3 separate regions of the Homo sapiens genome follow, and all the other regions are linked to region 3. Evidence: promoter capture Hi-C in human tissues and cell types (Jung and others, 2019). All regions are on one chromosome and are shown on one strand. Each heading gives the region's core, a stretch centred on a gene start or on the middle of the fragment in contact. The rest is flanking DNA. Distances are from core to core; before and after follow the strand shown.

Region 1 (4,068 bases), core at 363-2,862, 560 kb after region 3:
GCCCTCGTGGCCAGTCTCTACTGTTTCCATATGGCCTCTTGCTGTTCTGTGTTAACATCACGTGGCTGTCACATGCCGCTGCGTCTACACTAAGCACCCAGTGCTGTGGATGTGCACTGCCATAATCTTTACGGCATGGACCTGTGACCGTGGCCATCCCAGCCATTTTTGACAAGGGTACCCACAAGTCACTACTTGGAGGACAGTGCCTCTTTGAGGCCTATGCTTCAAGACTCCAGCCTGCCGGCCTTCGCATGCTTGCTGGTCGTGCTCACAGTAGCTCTCTACACCCTGGCTGTGGCAAACTGAGTCTCATCACCCAAGATGAAGTGGCTTCATTTGGTGCCGGGTGCCACCCAGGCTTGGACATTCCATGGCCTCAAGACCACAGGCTACCACCAAGTGGACTCTTGGGTATCTGGCAGGATGAGCACACAGCTGGCTGCTGGGCATGGGTGAGGTCAAGGGCATGAAGCAGTGGACAGCACATTCTTTGTGATCATACTGCTCCTCCTGCCCCACGGTGGCCTGACATCACAGCCTGCTGCTAGCTTATGAGGGTCTGTGCCGTGCCCCACCAATGCCTAGCCATCTCCTTTCCCATGAGTTTTGCCCAGACCACCATCAGCCCTGTTGCCCGCCCCCAGGTCTACAGGAACCTCCATAGCCGCTTGTGGACCCAGGTGGGCCACCTGCCAATGCACAGGAGAGCCCCTAATCCCCAGGAACTCTGCCAAACTGGCCTATCTGGGCATGTGAGTGAGGCAGGGGCAAGGATGGGATCCCCTCCTGAGCCCCAGTTACTGGACCCCACAGAATCCAGGTGCTCTGCCAGCCCCCCTGCCTCTACCTGTTAGGCTGCCAAGCTGTGGGTGCTGGGGAGGGGGTCTTCCTGGTCCTGGGGCCTGTCTATCCATACCCAGATCTCACACCATTTTTTTCTTTAAATGATGGCTTAGAAACAAAAAATAACAACTGAAGAAAAAGATTTTTTCTTAAACTCAACAAGAAAGACTTTCGTGTTCAGTTTGCCTCTCTTCGTCTCCAGAGAGGGAGGGTTTGCCCTGTAGACTGCCAGCATTCTCTCTTCCCCTATACCTTACCCTCTTTAGCAAGGCCTAGAATCTTCCAAAGGGGACAGTCCAAGGCTGCTGAACAGAGAGACCAGGAAGTCCCCAGAGCGGGGATAGTTAATATTCCATTTTATGCTGTGTTCTTTTAGACTAACCCCAACTCTTTCTTACCCTTCCACCAAGTCCGAACCCCTCTAGGTATAAGAGCTGAGCTGCCCACCCCCTCCTCCCCCTGCTTGCAGAGCTGTCTGTCTCCATTTCATTTTAGGGGAAGGGGTGGTAGTGGCCATACCCAGGCCCCTTCCCATGGAAGGCCTTATCTTCTGTTCCCTAGGACCTGGGGAGGCCTTATCACAAAATAATGTGGAGGGTGCTTTTGGCAGGGAAGTACAAAAGGAACCAGAGCCAGCTGAAAAGGCAGGATGGCTGAGAGATGGTAGAAGGAGGAGAGCCCTTGATTTTGGTTAATACATAGAGACAGGGTCTCACTATGTTGCCCAGGCTGGTCTTGAACTCCTGGGCTCAAGCGATCTGCCCACCTTGGCCTCCCAAAGTGCTAAAATTATAGGTGTGAGCCACTGTGCCCATCTGATTTTTTTTTTTTCTTCAAGACAGGGTCTCACTCTGTTGCCCAGGCTGGAGTGCAGTGATGCATCATAGCCTCAAACTCCTGGGCTCAAGTAATTCTCCCATCTCAGCCTCCCAAGTAGCTGGGACTACAGGTGTATGCCACCATGCCCAGCTTTTTAAAAAACATTTTTGTAGAGACGGGGGTCTCGCTATGTTGCCCAGGATGGTCTTAACTCCTGGGCTCAAGGGATCCTCCCACCTTGGCCTCCCAAAGTGCTGGGATTACAAGTGTGAGCCACCGCGCCCAGCCCTTGCTAACATTTTTGATTCGCCAATATGTTTTGTAAACTAGAAGAATAACAGAACACTGCAACTTTAGAGGTTTTCTCTCTTGGTCCTACCTTGTGTATGTAGAAAGTTAATGTAAGCTTTTCTTCTGCTGCTTTTAAGTAAGACCCTATGCATCCCCTCCTGTGTTTCAGCCCACTGGGGCATTATGCTGTAAAGGCTTGCTTGTTGCTTTTAGTTGAGAACTTTTGCAAGATTGTCAGTGTACATTTTTTATGCCACTTGGAAACTTATGTGACTATTCACAATTGTTATCAGGTTGTTGGGGCCTTTACCATAATCTTGTACTTAGAAGCAGAGTTCTGGTTTTGTTGGACTTCAGACTGGAAGCTGTGCCTGTGTTCTGCAAGGATAACCTCCAGAAAGAATTCTGTGACCCTGATGGTCTTGATGATTTTGTGCCAGGTTGTAATTGACATCACTGTAACTGACAATGCTTCTTTTAAGCAGAGAAATATTCCTGAGGTGGCTTTGTCCAGTCACAAGGGGATCTGTGACACTTTTGTTTTCTATACGCATGATAAAAAATAAAAAATTGCCTGTCTGGGGAAAAAATAACTTAGATCATGTCACTTCCCCATCCAAAACCCTACACTGGTTAAAAATATGTATCTATAGGCCGGGCATGGTGGCTCACGCCTGTAATCCCAGCACTTTGGGAGGCTGAGGCGGGTGGATCACGAGGTCAGGATTTCGAGACCAGCCAGTAGGATTTCACCAGTAGTGAAACCCCATCCCTACTAAAAATACAAAAATGTGCTGGATATGGTGGCGGGTGCCTGTAGTCCCAGCTACTCAGGAGGCTGAGGCAGGAGAATCGCTTGAACCTGGGAGGCGGAGGTTGCAGTAAGCTGAGACCATGCCATTCGCCATTGCGCTCCAGCCTGGGTGACAGAGTAAGACTCCGTCTCAAAAAAAAAATTTATATATATATATATATAAAATTCCTTATTGCAGGCGACAAAGCCCTGCATTTGCTGGTCCCTCCCAACATCTCCCATCCACTTCTGCTTTGCTCTCTCTGTGCCCCCAACACTGGCCTCTCTCCTGTTCTTTAAACACACTAAGCATGTTCCAGCCTCAGGATTTTAGCACTTGCTTTTTTCCCTCTCCTAGCTAGGATTTTCCTCCTGCAGATATTCTCATCTCATGGCTCCCTCAATTCATTCAGTCCTCAAACGCCACTTCAGAGGCCTTCCCTGCCCAGCCTGTCCAAAATTAGCCTCTACCCCTCCCTTCATGATTTTTTCCATGTCACTTGTAACTCTCTGAAATGATTTTTTTTTTTCGTTTTTGAGACAGGGTCTCACTCTGTCACCCAGGCTGGAGTGCAGTGGTGCTATCTTGGCTCACTGCAGCCTCCGCCTCCCGGGTTCAAGCGATTCTCCTGCCTTAGCCTCCCTAGTAGCTGGGACTGCAGGTGCCCGCCACCACACCCAGCTAATTTTTGTATTTTTAGTAGAAACAGGGTTTCACCACGTTGGCCAGGCTGGTCTCAAACTCCTGACCTCAAGTGATCCACCTGCCTCCACCTCCCAAAGTGCTGGTATTACAGGCGTGAGCCACTGCACGTGGCCTCTCTGAAATGATCTTTTCTTACCTTCTTCCACCTCCTTTCACATGTGGCAGGAGAACAGGGACACATGTTTCTGCTGCTTTGCTTCCCCATAGTTTAGTGTCCAGTGTCTCAAAGATTACTGGTATGAGTGACTGACTTTATTCCAGCATACAGAGTACTGTGCTGGGCTCTGACAAAGGCATAGTTCCTGCCCAAAGGATTTGAGTTGGGTGGAGAACGGTGTGGGTGATGAAGGGTGACTGTTTAATTTGCCATCCAGCTGGAACATATCTGGGAATGAAAGGGTCACGACTAATAATTACACCGGGGCAAGAGGTGTAACTGGTATCCAACGGTCATCCAAGGAGACAAAACCCAACTGTGTTCAACGTGGCTTATAGTTCACCAGGTATGTGATGATGTGGGACCAGAGGGCGGAGACTTCTCTGAAGTTGGGTCACGAGCTGGGTGTTAAAGAATAGGCAGTAGTTTGGAAAGTGGAGCCAGAGAAGGGAATTC
Region 2 (3,915 bases), core at 52-2,551, 970 kb after region 3:
TATTTAACTTCCCTGAGCCTCAGTTTTCCCCACTGTGAAATGGGAGTGTAAATACTCATGTTCACATCCTATTTATGACTGTTCAATCAGATGATGTCTCTGAAGTGCTTGACACATGGTAATGTTCAACACAGAGTATCCATTCTTAGTAAGGAAAATATCACCAAGGACACTTATAGGCAAATAAGGTTACCAATAAGAAAAAAAATAAAAAGGAAACAGATAATTCACCCAAGAGGAAATATGGAAAAATGTTTACAATAGTAGCAGTAATACAATCTTGTCAGCAAATACATAAAAATTAAAATAATTTGATGCTGGGGGTTGGGGGAAATGGGGAGATGACGATTAAAGAGTACAACAAATCTCAGACAAGAGGAAAAAGATTTTTCTTTTGCTCTACTGCACAGGGTGGAGGATATCATTAGTAATCGTAATACACTAAGAGAATAAATTCCAGCCAGGCGCGGTGGCTCATGCCTGTAATCCCAGCACTTTGGGAGGCTGAGGCAGGTGGATCACCTGTCAGGAGTTTGAGACCAGCCTGGCCAACGTGGTAAAACCCCATCTCTACTAAACATACAAAAATTAGCTGGGTATAGTGGCAAGTGCCAGTAATCCCAGCTACTCGGGAGGCTGAGGGAGGAGAATCACTTGAACACGGGAAGCGGAGGTTGCAGTAAGCTGAGATCTCACCACTGCACTCCAGCCTGAACAACAAGAGAGAAACTCCATCTCGATAAAAAAAAAAAAAAATCCAAATGTTCTCACTACAAAAAGTGGTAAGTATTTGAGGTGACAGATATGTTAATTAGCTAGATTTAATTATTCCAAATTGTAGTCATGAATCATAACATCACTTTGTACTGTATAAATATATACAACTATAAATTATCAATTTACAATTAAATTTTTAAAATAATAATTTCATGCCATCTATATGAATTTAAAAAAAGAAACAATTTTATAAGTTAATAAACAATGCAGATGAGATAATAAGAAAATAAAAATATTCATTCAAAGCCAATGGCACTTCAGGCCAGGCATGGTGGCTCACACCTATACCCAGCACTTTGAGAGGCTGAGGCGGGCAGATCACTTGAGGTCAGGAGTTCGAGACCAGCCTGGCTAACATCATGAAACCCCATCTCTACTAAAAATACAAAAATTAGCCGGGGCCAGGCATGGTGGCTCACACCTGTAATCCCAGCACTTTGGGAGGCTGAGGCAGACAGATCCCTTGAGGTCAGGAATTCAAGACCAGCCTGGCCAACATGGTGAAACTCCATCTCTACTAAAAATAAAAAATGAGCCAGGTGTGGTGGCAGGTGCCTGTAATCCCAGCCACATGGGAGACTGAGGCAGAAGAATTGCTTGAACGTGGGAGGCAGAGGTTGCAGTGAGCCGAAATCGTGCCACTGCATTCCAGCCTGGGCAACAGAGCGAGACTCCGTCTCACAAAAAAAAAAAAAAAAAAAAAAAATTAGCCGGGTGTGGTGATGCATGCCTATAATCCCAGCTACTCAGGAGGCTGAGGTAGGAGAATCACTTGAACCCAGGAGGCGGAGGTTGCAGTGAGCCAAGATTGCGCCACTGTACTCCAACCTGGGTGACAGGGTGAGACTCCATCTCAAAAAAAAAAAAAAAAAAAAAAAGCCGATGGCACTATAAATTGGTACTTCCATTTCAGAAGTAAAATTGGCAATAAATATCAACACTGACAAAACTGGTCATACCCTGTGGGGAATTTCTCCTTCCTTATTCTGAGAAGATCACTCAAAGAAATGGTTCTGCCTATAAAGTTGTTGACTGAGTACTTATAATCATGAAAAGCTGGAAACTACATTTTCAACAGAAAATAGTTAAATATATTTTGATAGAATATTAACAATCTATCAAAAAAGGATAAATGTGAAAATTTTGTAGCAGCACAGAAACAAAATCTGAAATAATCTCATGGCAAGTCAATAAAGCAGAACCCAAGGTTTTGTATTAACTGATTGTGAAAATATGTATGCTGGCTTGGGTAAAATCCAGCAGGGAGGTTGGAAAAATAAAAAATGTTCAATCTACGTGGTAAGAACTGTTGCTAACTTTTTCCTTTTATATTTCTTTTAAATTTGCTTCAACAGTATATTTTTCTGACTGTTCAAGATCTGAGCACCAGCCAGCACTGTGGCTCAAATCTGTAATCCCAGCACTTTGGGAGACCAAGGCAAGAGGACTGCTTGAGGCCAGGAGTTTGAGAGCCTGGGCAACATAGTGAAATCCCATCTCTACAAAAACATGTAAAAGTTAGCCAGGTAGGCTGGGCACAGTGGCTCACACCTGTAATCCCAGCACTGTGGGAGGCCAAGGTGGGCAGATAACTTAAAGTCAGGAATTCGAGACCAGCCTGGCCAACATGGTGAAACCCCATCTCTACTAAAAATACAAAAATTAGCCGGGTGTGGTGGTGCACACCTGTAATCCGGGCTACTCGGGAGGCTGAGGCAGGAGAATTGTTTGAACTCGGGAGGCAGAGGTTGCAGTAAGCCAAGATCATGCCACTGCACTCCAGCCTGGGAAACAGAGTGAGCCTCTGTCTCAAAAAAAAAAAAAAAAAAAGTTAGCCAGGCATGATAGTGCATGCCTATAGTCCCAGCTACTTGGGAGGCTGAGGTGGGAGGATCACGTAAGCCCAGGAGGTCAAGGATGCAGTGAGCCATGATTGCATCACTGCACACCAACCTAGGCAACAGAATGAGGCCCTGTCTTTAAAATTAATTAATTAAATAAAAATTTAAAAATCTGAGCACCCATCAGGACACATGTAACAATTCACCTCACCATGGTCAAAGCTTCAGGAGTTTGCCAACCTCCAGGTACACCAAACAGGTTGTAGATGTAAATCTGTAATTTTATACCATTCATTCTAAAGTTTAAATTCAGGAAAGAAACTTACTTTGCAGGTGGCATACAAGGCACAGTATGTCTACCCTTGGCTTTCTCTGGGGAAGATGCATTCTTTTCAGCAGTATCTTGATGAGCACTGCCTTCTTCCTCTGGCTTCTTTTTGTTGTTAGAACTTGAGTTCAAAAGGACAAAAAATATGTTTTCAATTCCCTGAAGCATAGCCTGTACCCTCCTCCCCAAATCTACTGCATATGGATTAAATTTTCTCATTCTATAGGATAACAAGCATGCTTCGACCACATGATTCTTCCAACAGTATCATTAGATCATATATATTAATGGCTTCAATGAGTAAACTTTGAGAAAGCCAACCGCTATCAAGATAAGAGTTATCTAGTGGTGGTTTGGAAGAGTAAGGAGGGACTCTAACTGCTCACCATCAAATGATCAAATGGCAGAGTTAATTGCCATCCCAATATCTATTCTGTCTCTTTCTCATTAACAAAACCCCAATTTCGGGAGGAGCAGCAACGCACTAAGCTACAAGTAAGTATTGTACTTGCCTCAACAGCCTCTACTGCAACTAGGGAATCCAAGTGACACAAGTCTAGGCGAATGAAATGAAATTTAAGGGTTGCTGCGAAAGACTTAAGTTTCCTGATATAGATGCTGCCCTTTTTCCTTTACTGTACTCTTCTTCTTCTCTTAAACATAAATATAACACCTAGAGATACACCAGCCATCTTGTGCCAGTGAGACAACAAGCAAAAGAAAAAATCTAAGAAACACAGAGCAGCATCTTGAAGAACAAGTACGAAAAAAAAAAAAAAAAAGCTAAAAATCAGCCACTGAACCAAAGCCAGCAGCAAACTACTTTTAGACCTCTGTGAAACAAATAATTCATTATTCTTTAAACCACTCCAGTTGAAGACTATTACTTGCAGCAAAATACATTCTTAACTAATAAAAATATAAACAAACATCATGTATGCAGCTTGTTATTAGCCGTAAAAACAAAAA
Region 3 (4,171 bases), core at 1,581-4,080:
TTATTTATTTTTGAACAGAGTCTTGCTCTGTCGCTCAGGCTGGAGTGCAGTGGTGGGATTTCGGCTCACTGCAATCTCTGCCTACTGGGTTCAAGCGATTTTCCTGCCTCAGCCTCTAGAGTAGCCGGGATTACAGGCATGAACCACCATGCCCGGCTAATTTTTGTATTTTTAGTAGAACCAGGGTTTCACTATGTTGGCTAGGCTGGTCTTGAACTCCGGACCTCAGGTGATCCACCGGCCTCAGCCTCCCAGAGTGCTAGGATTACAGGCATGCGTCACTGCGCCCAGCCCAGATCTTCTTTTTTAACAAGGTTAAAAATATTTAAAAATAAAAATTCCGGGCCAGGTGCAGTGGCTCACGCCTGTAATGCCAGCACTTTGGGAGGCTGACGCAGGTGGATCACTTGAGGTCAGGAGTATGAGACCAGCCTGGCCAATGCGGTGAAAACCCATCTCTAGTAAGAAGACAAAAGTTGGGCCAGGTGCGGTGGCTCGCGCCTGTAAACCCAGCACTTTGGGAGGCCGAGGCAGGCGGATCACCTGAGGTGGGGAGTTCAAGACCAGCCTGACCAACATGGAGAAACCCGTCTCTACTAAAAGTACAAAATTAGCCGGGGTGGTGGCACATGCCTGTAATCCCAGCTACTTGGGAGGCTGAGACAGGAGAATCACTTGAACCCGGGAGGCGGAGGTTGCAGTGAGCCGAGATCTCGCCATTGCACTCCAGCCTGGACAAAAAGAGCAAAACTCCGTTTCCAAAAAAAAAAAAAAAAGACAAAAGTTAGCTGGGTTTGGTGGTGGCCACCTGCATTCCCAGCTATTCGGGAGGCTGAGGCTGGAGAATCACTAGAACCCGGGAAGCAGAAATTGCAGTGAGCCGAGATTGTGCCACTGCACTCCAGCCTGGGTGACAGAGCCAGAATCTGTCTCAAAAAAAAAAAAAAAAAAAATTCTTGCACGGTGAGTAGGGCCTCTGAGTTCCTGTCTGTTTGTCACCCGAAGGTTTATTCTCTTCCAGGTACTCCAAACTCGGACTGTGTCCTGTACACATTCTCAAAGCACCTCCTACTTTTTGGCATCCCTTAATACTTTCACACACACTTGCGTCTGCCCCCTGGGTCAATTCTGACTTCTCAGAGGCCAGGCACTGCATCTGGTTCATCTGGTTGTGTCACTGTGGAATCCCCACCCCCTATCATGTCATGGTATCTGCCTCACAGCAGACCTTCTTTTTTTTTTATGGAGATGTGGTCTTGCTCTGTCGCCCAGGCTGGAGTGCAGTGGCGCCATCTGGGTTCACTGCAGTCTCGATCTCAAGATCTCAAGTGATCCTCTTGCCTCAGCCTCCGAGTAGCTGGGACCACAGGCATGTGCCACTCAATATTTGTTGAATGAATGTATGAATGATATAATGACTGAAGGGGATGGGCTTGGCCTTTGGGTAGAAGACTTTTTTGTTTTTTCTTTGAGACGGAGTTTCGCTCTTGTTGCCCAGGCTGGAGTGCAATGGCGCGATCTCGGCTTACCGCAACCTATGCCTCCCGGGTTCAGGGAATTCTCCTGCCTCAGCCTCCCGAGTAGCTGAGATTACAGACATGCACCACTACGCCCGGCTAATTTTGTATTTTTAGTAGAGACGGAGTTTCTCCATGTTGAGGCTGGTCTCAAACTCCTGACCTCAAGTGATCCGCCCGCCTCAGCCTCCCAAAGTGCTGGGATTACAGGAGTGAGCCACCGCGCCGGGCCGGGTAGAAGACATTTTGTTTATACTTTTACAGAAGGGATTTTCAGGAAAGGGTAGAGGAGAGGAGGAGGGCTGGTGAGGAAGGCCAGCCAAACCCCCCACATTTCCCTGCTCCAGGTTTCTCGGCATTACCTCTTTACCCTCAAGGCTGGACTTAGGGGCTAGGTGAAGCCCTTAGGCTTGGCGTTCAGTTCCTAGATTCTGGGTAGCATGTCTCTATTTTCTCATGTTTCCAGTGGGGATTAGGGTAATATTCACCTGGGAACTGTGAGGAGCCCCTGGGAAGAGAGGGCATGGGGGTTAGAGTGTTTGAGGGGCTGCAGTGATGATCACGGTCTCAGTAACCTCCCCTCACCCACCTCACCACCACCCTCCCTGCCCCGCACAGTCAAAGCCCTCGCACTATTTTGAGGAAACTTTGGTAAGTCAGTTTCTTCCACTCCAGAAGGTCTCAAAGTGTAGTCCCTGGGTGCTTATTGGAAATGCAAATTCTCAGGCTCCACCCTGGCCTTTCGAATCAGATCCTCTGGGGGCGGGGCCCGGCAATACCAGGTGATGCTGGGGTGATGCTGATGCCCTTCCAAGGTTGAGACCTAGTCTCTACTCTGATGTCAGCTCTCCGAGAGACACTCTGGCCTGCTTTGTTCCCTTCCCTGTCCCCAGTGTCTGGCATCGAGTAGGCTGCCATAAATATCTCTGGAGTGCATAGTAACAGTGATGATGATAATAGCAGCTAGCCATTGATTGAAGACCTCTTGTGTGCCGGTCTCTGCGTTAAACATTTCTGGAGGCTTAACTCATTTAAGGAGCTACCCCAGCCATCATTTTCTCAGATGGTGAAACTGAGGTTCAGAGAGGCCAAGCGCCGTACCCAAAGGTCACTCAGCGGGAGAGCTGGCAGGAAACCTCGCGTCTGCCGGTGCCGGCGCCGCCCCTGCCCCTCCCCGGAGCCCGGCGGCCGCGCGTGTCCGCGGCCCTGCGAGGGCTCCCCGGCTCCGGACAGCCCAGGGCGGCCGGGGGAGGAGTGCGCTGCGACGGCCGTGGCGAAAGTGCGGTTGTGGATGCGCGGAGAGGCCGGCAGCGGTGGCAGCGGCAGCGGAGGAGGAAGCTGAGCAGGGCGGCGGCGGCGGTGGAACCTGCGGGGCTGGGGCGCGCGCCATGGGCCGCCTGCACTGCACTGAGGACCCGGTGCCGGAGGCCGTGGGCGGCGACATGCAGCAGCTGAACCAGCTGGGCGCGCAGGTGGGCCCGGCGGCGGGGCGTGGGGCGCGGGGCCCAGGTGATTCCAGGATCCGGGCCTGGGGTGGGGGGGACGTCCGGGGGTGCGCGGGAGTTGGGAGAGACTAGACAGAGCGGCGTCTTGTGGGCGTTTGGGGTGTGTGAGGTGGGTTCGGGGCGAGGCTAAGGTGAGCTGGGGTCTGAGGAGAGTGTGGGGAGCCAAGGGATCTCCGGAGGCCTAAGGGCCACCTGAGGGGTCCGAAAGGCTTTGTGGGGTCTCAGAGATGGGACTACGGGACCTCTGCGGGGTCCTGGGGCCGAGGAGAGCTTTTGGGGTCCTAGAAGAGGGACGGAGGGGAGTCTAGATGAGGCTGAAGGAGTTTGGGGAACTGAAGGAACAGACTAAGGGCGTGGGGAGTTTTGGGGAGCAGTGGGGTCCAAAGGGAGATAGATGTTTGGCAGGGAGGCCGAGGAAGCCTGAGGGGAGTGGGAGGGCCCGAGAATCTGAGGGGGCCCGGGGAAGCTTGGCCTGGGCTGCCGTCTTACATCTCAGTGTGACATGAGTGTCAGTAATAGCCAGGCCCCACTGGGGCTCTGTGGGCCTGAGGGGCTCGATCTGGGACAAGGCTGATGACACCTTCCACCTCCACCCAGTTAAGGAGAGTCACTGGGATTCACATGGAAAGAAACCTTATACACTGTGTACAGTGGGGGTCTTCATCCTCGATGGTAGGGGAGCTAGCAAAGCCTTTTTCTCCCCCTTCAGGCTGCAGGTGCCAACCAAGGCAGTCTTGGAGGCATCCTGCTTCTGTGCTGGTTGGGATGCCTTTTCATACCACCAAGGCTGCTGAAATAGGTGAGAATGACACTTCTCACCCCCACTGGGAAGATACATCTATTTCCCCCGCTAGGTTGTCACTTCCCAGGAGGTAGCGCCCCTCTTCTTTCATCTCCATACCCCCCACAACTTCCCACACAGTAGTGCTGCTTGCGAGATAAAAACCAAACTTAGAACTTGTAACGACAGGAAGGTTCTAAGCTTGAGCTATGCAATAGAAAAATTTGCAAGCCACATTTCTAACTTTGCATTTTGTAGTAGCCACATTTAAAAATTAAATAGAAATGGAAATTAATTTTTTTTTTTTGAGACGTAGTCTCATTCTGTCACCCAGGCTGGAGTGCAGTGGCGCGATCTCGGGTCACTGC

Evidence for each region. Contacts are between HindIII fragments. The study calls those that stand out against the background at their distance.
Region 1: a fragment that was not itself captured here is called in contact with the fragment with the promoter of COMMD7 in region 3 in 1 of the 25 tissues and cell types used here (mesenchymal stem cells).
Region 2: a contact is called between a fragment that was not itself captured here and the fragment with the promoter of COMMD7 in region 3, in 1 of the 25 tissues and cell types used here (aorta).

Annotation. Positions count from the first base shown.
Region 1 is chr20:32,184,958-32,189,025 of GRCh38, reverse strand. No RefSeq gene overlaps it. Among named protein-coding and RNA genes, the nearest start is that of PLAGL2, 21 kb to the left of the region's middle. RefSeq lists an enhancer at 1-772. The HindIII fragment of the contact is 3,734 bases long and covers 1-3,479 here.
Region 2 is chr20:31,770,712-31,774,626 of GRCh38, reverse strand. TPX2 (TPX2 microtubule nucleation factor) reads right to left here. Exons shown (of 18, transcript NM_012112.5): 7 at 2,945-3,067. Among named protein-coding and RNA genes, the nearest start is that of TPX2, 33 kb to the right of the region's middle. The HindIII fragment of the contact is 9,779 bases long and covers 1-3,915 here.
Region 3 is chr20:32,742,126-32,746,296 of GRCh38, reverse strand. COMMD7 (COMM domain containing 7) reads left to right here and starts at 2,830. Exons shown (of 9, transcript NM_053041.3): 1 at 2,830-2,989. The coding sequence starts at 2,906. RefSeq lists enhancers at 1,335-2,279, 3,167-3,994 and silencers at 2,575-2,804, 2,985-3,054, 4,039-4,171. The HindIII fragment of the contact is 4,810 bases long and covers 1-3,746 here.